Regions from separate parts of the Homo sapiens genome. Here all the other regions are linked to region 4. The links are contacts of gene promoters, found by promoter capture Hi-C in blood cells and fetal thymus (Javierre and others, 2016). All regions are on one chromosome and are shown on one strand. The core of a region is centred on a gene start or on the middle of the fragment in contact, and the rest is flanking DNA. Distances in the headings are between cores, read along the strand shown.

The links. The method cuts DNA at HindIII sites, captures the fragments that hold promoters and counts their contacts. A CHiCAGO score of 5 or more calls a contact.
Region 1: a fragment that was not itself captured here is called in contact with the fragment with the promoter of SHLD1 in region 4 in 4 of 17 cell types (naive CD4 T cells, activated CD4 T cells, fetal thymus and 1 more); the score reaches 12.3 in naive CD4 T cells.
Region 2: a fragment that was not itself captured here is called in contact with the fragment with the promoter of SHLD1 in region 4 in 1 of 17 cell types (naive CD4 T cells); the score reaches 5.6 in naive CD4 T cells.
Region 3: a contact is called between a fragment that was not itself captured here and the fragment with the promoter of SHLD1 in region 4, in 10 of 17 cell types (activated CD4 T cells, monocytes, total CD8 T cells and 7 more). The highest score is 8.9, in activated CD4 T cells.
Region 5: a fragment that was not itself captured here is called in contact with the fragment with the promoter of SHLD1 in region 4 in 9 of 17 cell types (naive CD8 T cells, activated CD4 T cells, naive CD4 T cells and 6 more); the score reaches 11.3 in naive CD8 T cells.
Region 6: a contact is called between a fragment that was not itself captured here and the fragment with the promoter of SHLD1 in region 4, in 1 of 17 cell types (monocytes). The highest score is 5.1, in monocytes.

Annotation. Positions count from the first base shown.
Region 1 is chr20:5,951,974-5,954,673 of GRCh38, reverse strand. It overlaps MCM8 (minichromosome maintenance 8 homologous recombination repair factor), which reads right to left. Exons shown (of 19, transcript NM_032485.6): 2 at 2,511-2,663; 3 at 2,146-2,250; 4 at 1-66. The coding sequence starts at 2,658. Among named protein-coding and RNA genes, the nearest start is that of MCM8, 2.7 kb to the right of the region's middle. The HindIII fragment of the contact is 1,792 bases long and covers 372-2,163 here.
Region 2 is chr20:5,996,615-5,999,493 of GRCh38, reverse strand. It overlaps MCM8 (minichromosome maintenance 8 homologous recombination repair factor), which reads right to left. Exons shown (of 19, transcript NM_032485.6): 19 at 517-2,879. All of the region lies in intron 3 of MCM8-AS1 (MCM8 antisense RNA 1), which reads left to right. Among named protein-coding and RNA genes, the nearest start is that of MCM8-AS1, 7.8 kb to the left of the region's middle. The HindIII fragment of the contact is 5,698 bases long and covers 1-2,879 here.
Region 3 is chr20:5,542,057-5,544,885 of GRCh38, reverse strand. It overlaps GPCPD1 (glycerophosphocholine phosphodiesterase 1), which reads left to right. Exons shown (of 20, transcript NM_019593.5): 20 at 1-447. Among named protein-coding and RNA genes, the nearest start is that of LINC01729, 33 kb to the right of the region's middle. The HindIII fragment of the contact is 196 bases long and covers 1,403-1,598 here.
Region 4 is chr20:5,748,845-5,751,718 of GRCh38, reverse strand. SHLD1 (shieldin complex subunit 1) reads right to left here and starts at 1,318. Exons shown (of 3, transcript NM_152504.4): 1 at 1,240-1,318. RefSeq lists an enhancer at 1,443-1,492. The HindIII fragment of the contact is 6,647 bases long and covers 1,026-2,874 here.
Region 5 is chr20:5,560,661-5,563,360 of GRCh38, reverse strand. It overlaps GPCPD1 (glycerophosphocholine phosphodiesterase 1), which reads left to right. Exons shown (of 20, transcript NM_019593.5): 16 at 1,831-1,896. Among named protein-coding and RNA genes, the nearest start is that of GPCPD1, 49 kb to the left of the region's middle. The HindIII fragment of the contact is 8,610 bases long and covers 1-2,700 here.
Region 6 is chr20:5,522,154-5,525,168 of GRCh38, reverse strand. No RefSeq gene overlaps it. Among named protein-coding and RNA genes, the nearest start is that of LINC01729, 14 kb to the right of the region's middle. The HindIII fragment of the contact is 1,252 bases long and covers 625-1,876 here.

The DNA.
Region 1 (2,700 bases), core at 18-2,517, 200 kb before region 4:
TATGCCTTGTGAAAAATTTTTCAAATGCTTGAATCTTCTCAATCAAAGGAGAGCTATCGCTGTAAACTAATCCAACAAATATGGCATTAGCACAAATAATCACACAGGTACATGCACATTTTTCATGAGACAAAAGCAGCACTATATACATGGTAGATGATTTTTTTCTAATTGCTTTGTATTTTGATTACATTCATATAAGAACTAGTATAGAATGTAAACTTAAGATTCTAAAACAAATTTAGGTTTGCATAATGTGAAATGCAGACAGAAACTCTCTCTCTCTAAAAGCCCCACTATCTGGGAAACTTTGTTTTGCATCTTTGACACCTAATAGGACATGTTAGTTCAGATAATTTAGACAATAAGCTTAAACTAAAAATTATAATAAAGCCAAAGCCAGACACATAAACTAAGCTCTTACTCTGACAGAGCTGAAGACAATCACAATCACAGTCTTTCCTGAGATCAGGAGACAGACCAACACTTGACCCTGGTGGCAAAACTGAAAAGCCTTTTTTTTTTTAACACTCTAAAGTTCTACATTTTCAAATATGTCTCTCACAGAAGAACAGTACAATAAAGTAGTTTGGAAGCACAGATGGTGAAGGCTAAGGCACCTCTTGAACTCCATCTTTAGGACTGTCCAAAGATCACTTATAGTGTTCTGAGCTATCTGCTAGGGGAGCAATGGGAGTGCTGGTGGCTAATACATCCTAAAGGAACAAAAGATCATTCATGAAACAGATTCTATTGATGGAAAAAAACGAACAGATTTCCAATAAAGAAAACATTTGTAAAGTACTCTATTCATTCACAAAATGACTACTGCATGCCTGGTATGGGGCAGGGAGGGTCCTGGACCTCAAACGTCTAGTTTTCCTAAAAAAAAAAAGTATGCGGCTGGGTGCGGTGGCTCACGTCTGGAATCCTAGCACTTTGGGAGGCCGAGGCGGGCGGATAACGAGGTCAGGAGATCAAGACCATCCTAGCTAACACGGTGAAACCCCGTCTCTACTAAAAACAGAAAAAATTAGCCGGGCGTGGTGGCGGGTGCCTGTAGTCCCAGCTACTCGGGAGGCTGAGGCAGGAGAATGGCGTGAACCTGGGAGGCAGAGCTTGCAGTGAGCCAAGATCGCGCCACTGCACTTCAGCCTGGGCAACAGAGCAAGACTCCATCTCAAAAAAAAATAAAAAGTATGCACACACACACACACACACACACACACACACACCCCTCATGAGACATAAGAAACAAATGGGTATTTTAACAGCACAAAAAAGACAGTTCCCTGCACCTATACAGACTGATGTAGGTTAATTGGTATTCCTAATTATCAAAGGGAGATTCCTTACCTGTGTTTCTACACAAAGCTGTATTTGTTATTGTCCCTTGATTTCAGGCCCACTGTTCTACTTCCTGCTCTGCGATGCTATAATTCAGATCTGTACCCTACATGTCTCAGATTCTCTTTAAATTCTGCCAATTGAAGGCACTTTAGAGACGGGAAGGTGGCAGGAAGAGAAAGGAATTTATTCTTGTTTCCAACTCTTTTCAGCATCTCTGCAGCTGCAGAAGATAACGATAGTGCTAGCCTCCAGTTCCAAGCACCACTGAGTCATGCCCCCTCAGTTACCAGTGGCAACCAGCTTCATTTGCCTTAGTGGTCTAAGCACAGCTCTGTAAGGTAGCCTTCAGAAGTCCAAGCATAGCTTTGTAGGGTGCCCCTCAAAAGTCAAAATAACAGCTATGCTGTGACCTCTCCAACCTTTGAATTCCCACATTCTGGTAACCTCAGAACTTCTTTTAGTCTCTTAGCCATAAGGATGGTTGCTGCTTCCTGAATTACTACTTTCTGGGGAGTTACCTCAATATTTCCTTTCTGCTCTTTCAGTCTTCCATTTTTGTATCCAATTTCTTGTATTAAGTCCCCTTTTTGAAATACCTAGTATGGTTTCTGCTTTCCTGACTGATATAAAGTCTAAAATGCTTTTGAAACATAAACATCATTTAATTGTTTGGGTGAACTAAGATTAAAGCAGGTATATGTTAGTAAATGAATTACAGTAATACAAGATGTAGCATCCAAAGACAAGTTAAGAAAATATGATTTATGGTGCTTTTTTGTACTTTTTAAACCCTACCTTCAGAGAAATAAAGCTTCCAGCCTTTATATGGTATGAATCGATCCAATGTTGACTGCATTGACTGTGGGGTCTTTGTTGAAAGCAAAAACTGTGGGGTTTGTTCTGAAAAAAATAAAATACTAGGTTAGTAGAAACAGAGTGAACATTTTTCCAATATGCTTCTCTTTCCAAATGAGACTCTCATTAATAGAGTATCCAAATTAGGGGTTTTAGTAAAAATCTGGGACATCAATGTTCAAATACTTACTAAGGAGTAGCATGAAATAAAAGACAAACTGAAGTATGAGATAAACCGCCTTGTATGATAGACGTGAATTGCTTCCTTAAGTGAAAAAAATTGAACAATCATTGACCTCACCTACCAGAAGTACGTTTTCCTGTGGTTTTACTCAGATCAGGTCTGTGTTCTCTTTCTCTCCATTTTCCTGAGAAGTTCCCACCACCTCTTCCCCTTTTCCAGCTTTGAAATCTTCCTCGTCCAAATCCTCTGCCTCTATACTCTCCATTCATCTCTCCTAAAAGATAGATATTAAAAAGGTCTTCACCAAAACT
Region 2 (2,879 bases), core at 37-2,536, 250 kb before region 4:
TATATATATGGAGAGAAAGAGAATATATATACACTCCATAGAGTATATATACACTATATATATATACTGTACTCTCTAGAGTATATAGACTATATATAGTGTATATATAGAGTATATATACTCTATACATATCTGTATAGTATATATATACACTCTATAGTGTATATATATACTGTAGAGTATATAGTATATATAATATATAGTATATATAATATATATACTTTATAGAGTGTATACTCTAGAGTGTGTATACTCTAGTGTATATATATATACACACTAGTATATATACTGTATATGGAGTGTATATATATACTCTATATAGTGTGTGTGTGTGTGTATATATATACACATATATACTCTCTCTATATATATGACATGTTGAAATTACTATACATTTCTAGAAGCAAAGACTAAGAGTCTGTAGTCCCAAGGAATTATTCAGTGACTTTGCAAGTCTATGTACTAAGAATAATTCTGATTTAAATGTCAGAATCTGGCTCAGTTTTTGTTTTAACCTTTTTTTTAAAATTTTTAATCAGTGTTATGTATACACATGGTAAGTAACTCCATGGTATAGAAAAACTGATGATGGAATTCAATAGGTGCACTCTGCCTTTCCATTCCCAAGCCCACGCTCTAGAGCAAGCCTGGTATAGCTTTTGTTTTCAGTTCTTCTGAGGGTTAAATAAAACGAGTAGGTAGTTTTGTGAATTAATATTGCCTTATAATTTTAAGTATAGTACATGACCCAGGTGGAGTGCTTTAGATACAGATGTATGAGTGATTAGTTGCAGGAAACACAAACTACTGTAGCTAGCCACATTTAAAAGGACTGTAAAACAGGGAACTGGATGCTTGCAATATTGTCACAAGGGCTAGGAGTGGGTTCCATACTGGGTCTCCAGAATTAACTCCCAGAAAAACACTGCAGGTCTGTCTGGCTTGCCAGAGGCGCTGCTACCCCACAATAATGAGAAAGGTGAAGAATCAGGGTTGCATCCACCACGCCACTTGCCTCAACAACTGACTGCAAGAATTCTGCTGCAGGGAAATTAAATGTCTCCTCAACCACACATGCCACCAGAACACAAGCAAGAGGAAGATGGCTCTCTCCTCAGTTCTGCATTCCAAATCTCACACATGGGTGTCTGATCAGTGGAACCCAATTCACATCTGGAAATCTACCTGCAAAGGGAGTCTGGGAAATGTGGTTATTTTCTCACCTTCCAGCCCCTGCATTATAGGAAGGCACACTAGGAGAGCAGAATGGACACTGAATACCAAATCACCGTATCATTGTATCTACATTTATCCACCTCTTTGGCTAGTCAATATCCATACCATTGTTTATGAATTCAATGCATTCATAAACAATATATGAATATTGTTTAATATTCTTCTGTATAACAACAGCAACTATAACATGCTAATGTAAGTACGATATTTCCCTTCTTTATCAAAGGAGAGCTATAAAGATCCATCAATCACAGGGTGGTGTTTATTCCTCTTCTCGTTCAGTTATACCCTCACCTTGATATCTCTATCCTAAAAATGAAATGATCAAGTTGATTACCACCAATACAATTTACTTAACACAATATTGGAAAAGAGAGGAGGCTGGGCATGGTGGCTCACACCTGTAGTCTCAGCTACTCAGGAAGCCCTGGAGTTTGAGACCAGCTTGGGCAACAAAGGAAGACCTCATCTCTACTAAAAATCAAAATTAGCTGGGCATGGTGTTGCATTCCTGTAGTTCCAGCTACTCAGGAGGCTGAGGTAGGAGGATTGCTTGAGCCCAGGAGATCACGGCTTGATCATGTCACTGCACTCCAGCCTGGGCGACAGAACAAGACCCCCATCTCTTAAAATTTCATCTCGCAGCCAGGTGTAGTGGTGCATGCCTGTAGTCTCAGCTATTCAGGAGGCTGAGGTGGGAGGACTGCTTGAGCTGAGTAGTTCAAGTCCATACTGGACAACATGGCAAGACCACCATCTCTTGAAAAAGAAACTTTTGGCTGGGCACAATGGCTCACGCCTGTAATCCCGGCACTTTTTGGGAGACCGAGGCAGGCAATCACCTGAGTTCGGGAGTTAAAAACCAGCCTCACCAACATGGAGAAACCCCGTCTCTACTAAAAATACAAAATTAGCCATGGTGGCACATGCCTATAATCCCAGCTACTTGGGAGGCTGAGGCAGGAGAAACGCTTGAACCCAGGAGGCGGAGGTTGCGGTGAACCAAGATCGCGCCACTGTACTCCAGCCTGAGCAAAAAGAGCAAAACTCTGTCTCAAAAAAAAAAAAAAAAGAAAAAAGAAAAAAAAAGAAACTTTCATGATGTAATGTTTTCTTGCTTTGCATGTTTCTGTTCTGACATTTGTACTTAGGATTTGTTTTAATCAGCAATGGTGACACAGAAACAATTGCCTATGGAAGATTACTTTCATCTCCCAAGAGGGCGTGCCATGCCACACCAGGCCACATGAGGAAACACCAAAGTCAGTCAGGCAGTAAAGAAGCAAGTGAAAAGCCTAGGCCAGAGCTTTGTTGCTACAGTGGTTGAAAGGTGTGGGGACACCCACTATTGGGCAGGAAGTGAAATACTATATGTTGGGGTTTGTGGTTGGAGGGACTGTAATGTGATGTTTGCACACCCATAAAAGCTGGATTGTAAGGGAAAGCTAAACAACTTTTGTTGTTAGTTTGGCCCTGTGATTAATGGATGCTAAATACATAATCTAAGGAAACATGGAACTTCTTCTTCTGAAAATGTAGGTTTATGTCTTTTTAAAAATAAATTTATATAATAGCCTTAACCTTTGAGACTTATTTTCCTCTTTGAACAATAAATTAGTATATTTTCTCTTCTGTCTACCACT
Region 3 (2,829 bases), core at 251-2,750, 210 kb after region 4:
TCCAAGCTTACAGCTACCTCAGTACTGCTTTGCTTGTCTGAAACACCTCCTTTGCCTTCCTTCAGTGTCCCGCTCAGGTGCAGCCTCCTCCCTAAAGCTCATCTCAGCTTTTGATCTGAATGATGATGGAAACATGCAGACAGCCTCTCAGTCTTACTATTTAATGTTGTAGCTGGGAAAAAACCCAGAGAGGTTAACTGATATACTGGGTTGGGACTAGGATGTGGGTTTTGTGACTCTGAATCCCATGTTCTCAAACTACGCTGCCTTCCGAAGTCTGGCATTTGTTAGCTCATGCTTCCTTGTAGTCCAGCTTCTTATGTGCCTGTTATATTCTCCAGTAAGATTGTAAGCCCCTTAAGGGCAGGGACGTCTTTGCATCTCTAGCACTGCTATAGTGTTCTATCCTTAGTTATGAACTAGATAAATAAATGGTGGTGGCAACAATCCTAGTTTCCTAACTCAGATTGTTTCACGATAAACACAGTTTTGTATGGCATGCTTGGCCATAATGTCTGGAGTATGTGTGTGCTCACATATGCGTGTGTGTGTTTGCATGGGTTTGTATGTTTACCAATGGAGTTCTCTGTCCTGGTTGCTTGGAGTCATGTATTTGATGGATTATGCTAAAACCAATTTTTTGCTCCATGCAGACTGAGGAGAAATACAGGGATAGTTATTCCATTTAAGTGGAAGAAGAAGGTACAGTTTTTCCCCCAGGCCTGGTTGCCTCTTCCTGGGACAGCACACCTAAGTCCCGCAGTTGGTGGACTGGTAGTGAAAAGGGCGCTGCCTTGGATAGGAATTGTGTGGCCTGGGGCAGGTCGCCTCATTAGTCCTGGTGGACACTCATTGCCCTTTCTGCCTAGGCTCGCTCTCTATGCCTCTGACTAAATTCTGCCTCTCACATTATTACTGGCTTGGTACTCTAGGCTGATAATGGAGTCCTATTAATTGAGATTTGGATACAGTTGATTTATTCCTTTGCATTTTAGTTTTGGATCATGTATTTTTGGGGTAGAAAGCAAAGTATTTGTATTGGAAATACTGCATGATTTTGGCACTCATGATTGGAAACTCATTCCAACATGACCTGTTAGTGAGCTTGTACAACTTGAGAAGTAGGTTTGAGGTTTTTAAAATGCAAGAGACCATATGATGAAGACTACCATGCAAATGTATGTGGAGATGAGGAGGGGAGATGATAGGCTGGAACAGGTGGAGACTTCATAGAGTTCTCAAGCTCTTACAGATAGAGGTACAGGTCAAGGGAGTTGTGAAACCAGTTTGGGTGGCAGTCTGCATAAAGTCAGAGGCCAGGGTCATATTCGTGGTGTGTTCAGGAGGAATGAAGGAGCCATTTTGACAATGGAGAATATATTGTGAATGCCAGAGAGAAGCTTAGCATGGTATAGGAGATAAAAGTTAATGACTGTTAAGAAGGGAAATGACATGAAAGTCAAGTGTTTAAAAGTAATGAGGAAAGTAATATTAGTATAGGAATAATAAGAGGGATACTATAATTTATCTAGTCCTCTACTAAATTTACTTAAACATGAAAATAGAAATGTGGGTAGGATGGGTGAACTTCTGAAGCTTACTTGCAAAGCCAAACTACTTAATTTAACAGGAAGAAAGCTATAAAAGCTCAGCAAAAGTTCGGTGGCATCTCACAGTTTTAAATGTATCTCTCTGCAGACCAGACCTCTCAAATAAGTTCTAGATTCATACATCCAACTGTGTCCCCATCTCCACTTTAAGGTCTAATAAGCATCTCGCACTTAACATACCTCAACAGAGCTCTTCCTTCCTCCTTCCTTCTACCAAACCTGCTCCCATTCCACCTCCTCCCAAGTTCTGTCTCAGTGTGTGGTACCTGGGAGTCATCCATGCGATTAGTATAGCTTTATGTTATGTGTGTTAGGGTAGTTGCTCAATATTTTTAAATAACTTTTAAAATAACTTTTAAATATTTTAAAATAACTTGATACTTTATCAAATGCCAGAAGAGTTCGCTTGAGAGTCTGATCAGTGTTGGACTAATTTGCTACATTAAGAATATAGCAGGGGCCGGGCGCAGTGGCTCCTGCCTGTAATCCCAGCACTTTGGGAGGCTGATCACCTGAGGTCAGGAGTTCGAGACCAGCCTGGCCAACATGGTCAAACCCCATCTCTACTAAAAATATAAAATTGGCCGGGCATGGTGGCGGGAGCCTGTAATCCCAGCTATTCGAGAGGCTGAGGCAGGAGAATCACTTGATCCTGGAAGGTGGAGGTTGCAGTGAGCCGAGATCACGTCACTGCACTCCAGCCTGGGTGAAAAAACTAAAATTTGTTTGGAGAGGCAAAGGAACTAGAATAGCTAAAAACAATTTTGAGCAAGAAGCAAGTGGGAGGAATCACTCTACCTGATTTTAAAACTTACGTAACTACAGGAATCAAAACTGGTACCGGCGGAAGGATAGATACATAGATCAGTGGCCTAGAATAGAAAAATCCACACAAGCACAGCCAAATGCTTTTTGACAAACATGCAAAGGCAATTCAATGAAGGATTGAAAGAAGGATGGTCTTTTTAAGAAATGATGCTGGAGCGGCCAGGCGTGGTGGCTCACGCCTGTAATCCCAGCACTTTGGGAGGCCGAGGTGGGTGGATCACTTGAGGTCAGGGGTTCGAGACCAGCCTGGCCAACATGGCAAAATCCCATCTCTACTAAAAATACAAAAATTAGTGGTGGCATGCGTCTGTAATCCCAGCTACTTAGGAGGCTAAGGCATGAGAATCGCTTGAACCTGGAAGGCGGAGGTTGCAGTGAGCCAAGATTGTGC
Region 4 (2,874 bases), core at 69-2,568:
CTGGCTCAGAATAAACCGCTTTAAAATAGTTTACAGAGTTTTATTTATTTGCTAACAGTCTGACACATGATACAAAGACAAGCTTTGAAAATATTATACATAGTATAAGAAGATAGCCGGGCGTGGTGGCTCACACCTGTAATCTCAGCACTTTGAGAGGCTGAGGCAGGTTGATCAAGAGCTGAGGAGTTCAAGACCAGCCTGGCCAAGATGGTGAAACCTCGTCTCTACTAAAAATACAAAAATTAGTCGAACGTGGTGGCAGGCGCCTGTAGTCCCAGCTACTCGGGAGGCTCAGGCAGGAGACTAGCTTGAACCTGGGCAGCAGAGGTTGCAGTGAGCCAAGATCGTGCCACTATACTCCAGCCTGGGCTACAGAGTGAGAGTCATGAGACTCCGTTTAAAAAAAGAACAAAAGTCATGAAAGAAGCTAGTCACAAAAACATTGACATTATACTTAATGAAAGAAGCCAGCTGCACTGTATGATTTCATTTATATCAAACGTGCGAATTGGCAAGGCTATACAGACAGAAAGTATACTAGCAATTGTCTAGGACTTGAGGCGGAGTGGACGTGGTGAATGTAGAATGACTGCTACTGGAGGCAGGATTTTTCTTTGGAGTGATGAAAGTATTCTAAAATGAGATCACAGTAATAGATGCACAATTCTGTCAACAACAACAAAAAAACCCTTAATGTTACCCTTTATTATTTATTTTTGGGTACGTTGTCTTGCTCTGTCTTCCAGGCTGGAGTGCAGTGGCGCGATCTGGGCTCACTGCAGCCTGGAACTCCGGGGCACAAGCGATTCTCCCACCTCAGTCTCCTGAGCAGCTGGAACTACAGGCGAATGCCACTATGCTAGGCTTGATTTTTTTTTACGCTTTAAATGGGCAAATTTTACTTAGTAGGTGAATAGAAATTTCCCAAGAAAGCTGTTTTTTTGTTTGTTGGTTTTTTAGCAGAACCTCCTGAAGTGGCAGGTCACTGAAAAAATTTAAAAAAAAACAACAAAACCGAAGCTTATCCATACTCACTATCCACAAATTCCCAAAATTCCCCAAAGCACAGGCTGCAGACACCGTGTGTTGGGGCGGAAGGGGCGGGGAGCTAGCAGGAAATCCTGACATGCCTAGGAAAGCCTCCATAACTTCCTAATTGAGAGAGAACGATCAGATGCATTGCTGTGACCCCCGCCCCCACCACTCCAACCCCCCCCCATCCCATCCCGCGCTTACCTCTCCTCCAAAGCACTCCAGAAAACTGAGGAGAAAAGCCGCCAAGCCCCCCGACACACTCACCATCCGCAACCGGAACGCGGAAGCAATGGCGCCATCTTTTTTATGGGAAATGTGAGGTTCGAAGGAAGTCACCGGAGCCATCCTTACTGCGGGCAGTGAAGGGCAATGGAAGCCGGTCGCGGCCATGTTGACTGAGGCTTTTGGCCTGTCAATGAGGCTTGCCACATGTGGCTATTTTGGGCAATTTCCTGAGGAGGCTTGTCGATAAATGTGCTTGGTAAACCCTAAGGGAACAGAAAAAATATTCAAAAATTTAAATGTTGGCCGGGAGCGGTGGCTTACGCCTGTAGTCCCAGCACTTTGGGAGGCTGAGACGGATCACTTGAGGCCAGGAGTTTGAGACCAGCCTGGGCAACATAGGGAGACACTGTCTCTACAAAAAAAATTTTTTTTTAATTAGCGAGGCATGGTGGCACATGTCTGTAGGCCCAGGTAGTTGGGGGGCTGAGGTGGGAGAATTGCTTGAGCCTGAGAGGTCAAGGCTGCAGTTGGCCATGTTCTTGCCACTGCAGTCCAGCCTGGGCAACAGAGCTAGACCTTGCCTTTTAAAAAAAAAAATTCGTCTGGGCTCAGTGGCTCACGCCTGTAATCCCAGCACTTTGGTAGGCCGAGGCAGGAGGATCACCTGAGGTCGGGAGTTCGAGACCAGCCTTACCAACAGAGAAACCCTGTCTCTACTAAAAATACAAAATTAGCTGGGTGTGGTGGTGCAGCCTGTAATCGCAGCTACCCGGGAGACTAAGGCAGGAGAATCGCTTGAACCCAGAAGGTGGAGGTTGTGGTGAGCCAAGATCGTGCCATTGCACTCCAGCCTGGGCAACGAGAGCGAAACTCCGTCTCAAAAAAAAAAATAAATAAAATTCAATGTCTTGGAGAGGGTGGGGTGGCATGCCCCTGTAATCCCACTGCTTTGGGAGGCCAAGATGGGAGGATTACTTGAGGCAAGGAGTTCAAGACCCACCTGGGCAACACAGTGGAGACCTTGTCTCTACAAAATGGTTTTGTTTTTTTTTTTTTGAGACGGAGTCTCGCTCTGTTGCCCAGGCTGGAGTGCGGTGGCGCCATCTCGGCTCACTGCAAGCTCCGCCTCCCGGGTTCACGCCATTCTCCTGCCTCAGCCTCCCAAGTAGCTGGGACTACAGGCGCCCGCTACCACGCCCGGCTAATTTTTTGTATTTTTAGTAGAGACGGGGTTTCACCGTGTTAGCCAGGATGGTCTCGATCTCCTGGCCTCGTGATCCGCCTGCCTGGGCCTCCCAAAGTGCTGGGATTACAGGCGTGAGCCACCGTGCCCGGCCTACAAAATGGTTTTAATAAATAAATAAATAAACTTGAATGTCTACATTTTAAAAATATGAAAAGTAGAAATTAAAGATGAGGATGAAAATATTGTAATATTCTGATGCATGCAGATAACTACATAACTGCCACAACTGCAGGACCACAAAAAAGAGACTGTCTAAAGACAAAATTACAAAATTAAGATTTAGCTTAAAGATCTAATTGGCTTTTGTTTACAATTCTAGAATCAGGCAGCATCTCATTCTATAAGATTGAATGTTCCAATGAGCT
Region 5 (2,700 bases), core at 41-2,540, 190 kb after region 4:
GCCTTTTAGTCAAATAAGTTAAAACACACACGCAAACTCATTTACTCACTTTGCCATTATAATTCAATCACAAAGAAATTTTGGCCAGGCGTGGTGGCTTACGCCTGTAATCCCAGCACTTTGGGAGGCCGAGGCAGGTGGATCACGAGGTCAGGGGATCAAGATCATCCTGGCTAACATGTGAAACCCCGTCTCTATTAAAAATAAAAAATTAGCCTGGTGTGGTGGCGGGTGCCTGTAGTCCCAGCTACTCGGGAGGCTGAGGCAGCAGAATGGCGTGAACTCAGGAGGCGGAGCTTGCAGTGAGCCGAGATCGCGCCACTGCACTCCAGCCTGGATGACAGAGCGAGACTCCGTCTCAAAAAAAAAAAAAAGAAATTTTAACGCCAAAATAATACCAAATATAATCTCATTATATAGACACTTTTCTGGCAAATTTGCCTTTTAGCAATCTCAACACTAATATATTGTCCTAGTCTTTCTCATTTTGCATTAGTCCAGCAAAAATATGACAGATACGTTAAATAAGTCTTTAGATATAGGAGAAAATTAAAAAAGTCCCACACAAAATTGAATACAAACTGTTTTAGATGCTGTACTTTACATGCAGCTGGTTAAGAGTAGGCCCAGAGCTAGATGCCAGGTCACCAGACTCCTGGGCTGTGTTCTTACCACTATATTATTCTGTTTGTATGCATTTATTTGCTGTTAAAAATTAAATACCATATGTGCTATACATGTTCTTTGATACCTAAAATTTTGAAGTATCTAAAATAATCTGCCGGGCACAGTGGCTCACGCCTGTAATCCCAGCACTTCTGGAGGCCAAGGCAGGTGGATCACCTGAGGTCAGGAGTTTCAGACTGGCCTAGTCAACATGGTGAAACCCATCACTACTAAAATACAAAAAATTAGCCAGGCGTGGTGGCAGGCACCTGTAATCCCAGCTACTTGGGAGGCTGAGGCAGGAGAATTGCTTGAACCCCAGAGGTGGAGGTTGCAGTGAACTGAGATTGTGCCACTGTGCTCCAGCCTGGGTGACAGAGTGAGACTATGCCTCAAAAATAATAATAATATAACATAATCTCTGTCAAATTCATTTTGCCCTGAGCATATTTATGTATATGTCTGGGCTTCATGTTTGTTTAAGACTGAACAAGTCCGTTCTTTGGAGGTTACTAACCAAGTTTCATATTTTCAATGTCATTTTCTAGTTAAAACTGCCAAAATAATCTGATGGCAAAGTGTCTAGATAATTTAGTTTAGATACACTGATAGCATTTGTCATTTATATAAATTATAACTTTTTTGATTTATGAGCTGTAGCATAATGTTTTCATTTTGGGGATACATCTTTTCAGGAAGTTATGGGATTTGTTTAGCATCATCACCTTCAAAACAATCTAAACATCATGGTTTTTCATAGATTTTAGGCAAGTAGATTGACATCCCCAAATGCAGTGTAGAATACATGACAAATGTCTTGAATTCATGATGTTGCCTATTGTGTTAGAGTTCACTTTGGATGTTTACTAGTAATGGCGAAAAGGATTTGAGGTTAAGGACCATCTTTGTGTTTGTCAGTTATCACAGACAGTGCCTGAGACTCCTGCTTTTGCTGCTTAATTTCTTTTGACCTTATTTAACATAATCATCTACCAGGTTGTCACTTTGAGTATGACAAAATATGTTTGTGCATTATGCACAAAACATTTTATTGCTACTAATGATAAATTCTTATTATTTTTAGTAATAATTGTATTTTTTTTGTTTTCTTATTCTGCTATCCATCTCATCAAAAACAAAATTTACCAACAAACAAAACTGTAGGTTTTAGAGTCTTTGCCAGAAGATGTAGGGTTTAACATTGAAATAAAATGGATCTGCCAGCAAAGGGTAAGTAATTCTCTATGCAGCACATTCTATACTCTCTATGCCTATCTAAAAAATTCTTTCATTCCTGTCTTTGTATTTTAATGGAATAAGCTAAATTGAAATCTCATTGTGGCTTCCTCCACCAAGCACAATGCTTATTGGACCCTTTAAATAAAACATATCTTGCATTCATGCTAGTATGTGAGTATTTCAAATTAATGATGAATATTGTAGAAATTTCAGTTTACATGTGTCTTGTGTGAACAATATGGTGGTTTTGGGGAGATACTTATAAAGTGGATAGTCACATCTCTTGGATTTAGTTTTTACTTTCTTATTCCCATATAAGAATGTTTTAAATAATTTTCTAAGCAGTTTTCTGTTGTTAACAGTAGCTAGTAATAATTATTCAGGAAAAAAATTTCTGCAATTGTTTTAAATCACTTACAAATTTAGTCATTTTTTTGTTCAACAAATATTTTTTGAAAAGCTGCTATGGACCAGGCATTTTCCAAGTGCTCGGGACAAGTAGTCCACAAAAGAGAATAAGGCCTTGTCTTCCTGGGACTTATATTTCAGTTGTGGAAAACAATTAGCTAACTATTGAATATATCAGAGAGAATATGTGCAGATTGATGGGATGCATTGCAAGGGGCTTGGGGTAGTAGAGTGTGGGGTGTTGAAAGTAGTTAATTCAGATGTCATGATTGGGCATTGAGCAATACCCTTGAATTTGTTTTGGTCAGAATAATCTGTAATTGCCCTCATTATGCTGTTTGTGACAAGCTGGTCCTCATTAATGTAGTGAATTCTCGACTAAGGTTT
Region 6 (3,015 bases), core at 1-2,500, 230 kb after region 4:
AGCTTCTCTCATATTATACCCATCCCCCAATGACCCACATCTGCCAGCTCGATTTCAAGGCAGCCTGCTGTCTTCCCTTCTGTTCTGTAAGTGGCTAGATCTCAGGATTATTACATCATAATTTGTTGCAACAATTCGGGTCACAGTTGTCTTTGCTCTAAGGCAATGCTTTTCCTTCCTTCCTTCCTTCCTTCCTTCCTTCCTTCCTTCCTTCCTTCCTTCTTTCCTCCCTCCCTTCCTCTCTTTCTTTTCTTTTCTTTTTTCTTTTTTTTTTTGACAGGGTCTTGCTCTGTTGCCCCAGGCTGGAGCACAGTGGCATGATCTTGGCTGACTGCAACCTCTGCCTCCTGGGCTCAGGCCTCCCGAGTAGCTGGGACCACAGGCATGCACCACTACACCTGGCTAATTTTTGTATTTTCTGTAGAGATGGGGTTTTGCCATGTTGTCAAGGCTATGGCAGTGCTTTTCTGGTGAATGTTCTCCATAAGCCTTGCTTTGCTTTTTCTTTTCTTTTCAATTCTTCTTTTTGTATGATTTTTGTACTTCTCTCCAGGTCATTCTTTCTTGCTAACTTTTATGTCTGAATGTGGCAAGTTTTTCCTAAGTTGATTTTAGCAGAAAGCTTGTCTAGAGAAAGATGAAGAAGCACTGTGGTCCAGGTTCTGATGAATTATCATGGGAAGCCAAGGTCTCTGTCTGTGAGTTTTTTTCTCCATTAAAAAAAAAATAAAATATAGGACTGGGAGAAGTGGCTTACACCTGTAATCCCAGTACTTTGGGAGGCCGAGGCAGGAGGATTACTTGAGACCAGGAGTTTGAGAACAGCCTGGGCAATAGAGCAAGACCCTCATCTCTCCAAAAAATAAAAGTAGCCAGTTATGGTGGTGCATGCCTGGAGTCCTAGCTATTCAGGAGACTGAAGCAGGAGGATCACTTGAGCCCAAAAGTTTGAGACCAGCCTGGGCAACATAGGGAGACCCTGTCTCTACAAAATAAAGGTTAAAAAAAAATGAGGCTGGGCATGGTGGCTCATGCCTGTAATCCCAGCGCTTTGGGAGGCCAAGGCAAATGGATCACTTGAGGCCAAGAGTTCGAGTCAAGCCTGGCCAACATGGTGAAACCCCATCTCTATTAACAATACAAAAATTAGGCCAGGTGCGATGGCTCACGCCTGTAATCCCAGCATTTTGGAAGACCAAGGCAGGCGGATCACAAGGTCAGGAGTTCAAGACCAGCATGATCAACATGGTGAAAACCTGTCTCTACTAAAAAATACAAAAATTAGCTGGTCGTGGTGGCACGCACCTGTAATCCCAGCTACTCAGGAGGCTGAGGCAGGAGAATTACTTGAACCTGGGAGGTGGAGGTTGCAGTGAGCTGAGATCATGCCATTGCACTCCAGCCTGGGCAACAGAGTGAGACTCTGTCTCAAAAAAAAAAAAAAAAAAAATTGAAATGAGTCGCGTATGGTGGCACATACCTGTGGTACCAGCTACTTGGAATGTTGAGGTGAGAGGATCACTTGGGTCCGGAAGGTCAACGCTGCAGTGAATTGTGATAGCACCACTGCACTCCAGCCTGGGCGATGGAGAGAAAAACCTTGTCTCTAAAAAAAAAAAGAAATACAGTAGCCAACATGAAAGTACATATAAACACATATATGTTATGCAGAAAGAGAACTAACTCCAGAACTCATCCCAGTGTAGCCATTGCTCAGCTCCAGAAACAAACTTCTGTGATTATTTTTGCAGACCTCTCTGTACCCACCTTGGCAACCACTATCCAGAATTTTATGTTTTTCAATCAATTGCCTTTCTTTGTAGTCTGCTTCAATTCTTTGTATTTGCACAGATTACATGGAATAGTTTTGCAAGCTTTTTATGCCCTACTGTTCTTCTGGATCTCCACACCTTGTTTGTGACTTTTCTGCATGTTGGAGCATGGAGCCTGTGCAGTATTCCACTGTAGTGGCTGTAGCGCATATCATTTCTCCATTCTTCTGTTAATGTACATTTGGATTGCTTTCAGTTTTGCTGCCTTGATCAATATTTACCTGTCTTCCAGGACACATGCGCAAAGTGCTATGTAGTAGTGGAATTGCAGGGCAAGAGTTGCATGTTCAACTTTATTGGATAAGGCCAAACTGTTTTCCAAAGTGGCCATACTAATTTGGACATTTGCCCGCCACCCCCATCCCAGTGAAAACAGGTTCCTCCTATTCTACTTCCTTGCAAATACTTTGGATTCTTGCATTAATATTAACTCTTCACTTTTTACTCAGTGACTGGTAACTGTAGGGCTATTGATAGGAATACATCTCTCCTTCCTCCTCCATCAAAATGACTATCTTTCATGATGCTGTTACCAGCGGTGAATCCATATGGATCTGCAGCAACTAAATTCCTGCCTCCTTGATGGAAGGAATTCATCTGAGTGGCAGAAGGCAGAGTGAGCAACCAAGGCAAGTTTTAGAGCAGGAGTGAAAGTCTATTAAAAAGTTTTAGAGCGGGATGAAAGGAAGTAAAGTACACTTGGAAAAGGGCCAAGCAGGAAACTTGAGAGATTGCCCTTTGACTTGGGGTTTTGTACATTGGCATGATTCTGGAGGGTTGTGTCTCTCTTTCCCTTATTCTTCCCTTGGGGTGGGATATCCCCATGCAGAGTGGCCTACCAGCACTTGGGAGGGTCTGCATGCACAGTGTGTTTACTGAAGTTGTATGCATGCTCACTTGAAGTGTTTTTCACTTACCAGTGGAATGTTCCTAGAGGAAGGTCATATACCAGTTAAACTCTGCCATTTTGCCTCTTAGTAGGCATGCTTGAGCTCATTCACCCAACTCCTGAGATCTTATCAGGAAACTGCTAATGCAGCTAATCACCAGCTTCAGGTGTTTTGTATCTATTGGGAGACGGCCGTTCCCTTGTGCCAGCTGTGACCAATTAGTATTTTAGAGAGACAGTTTAACAACCACCTAACCATCACCTGATGGTTGTCTGACAGTCCTGGTGGTGTTG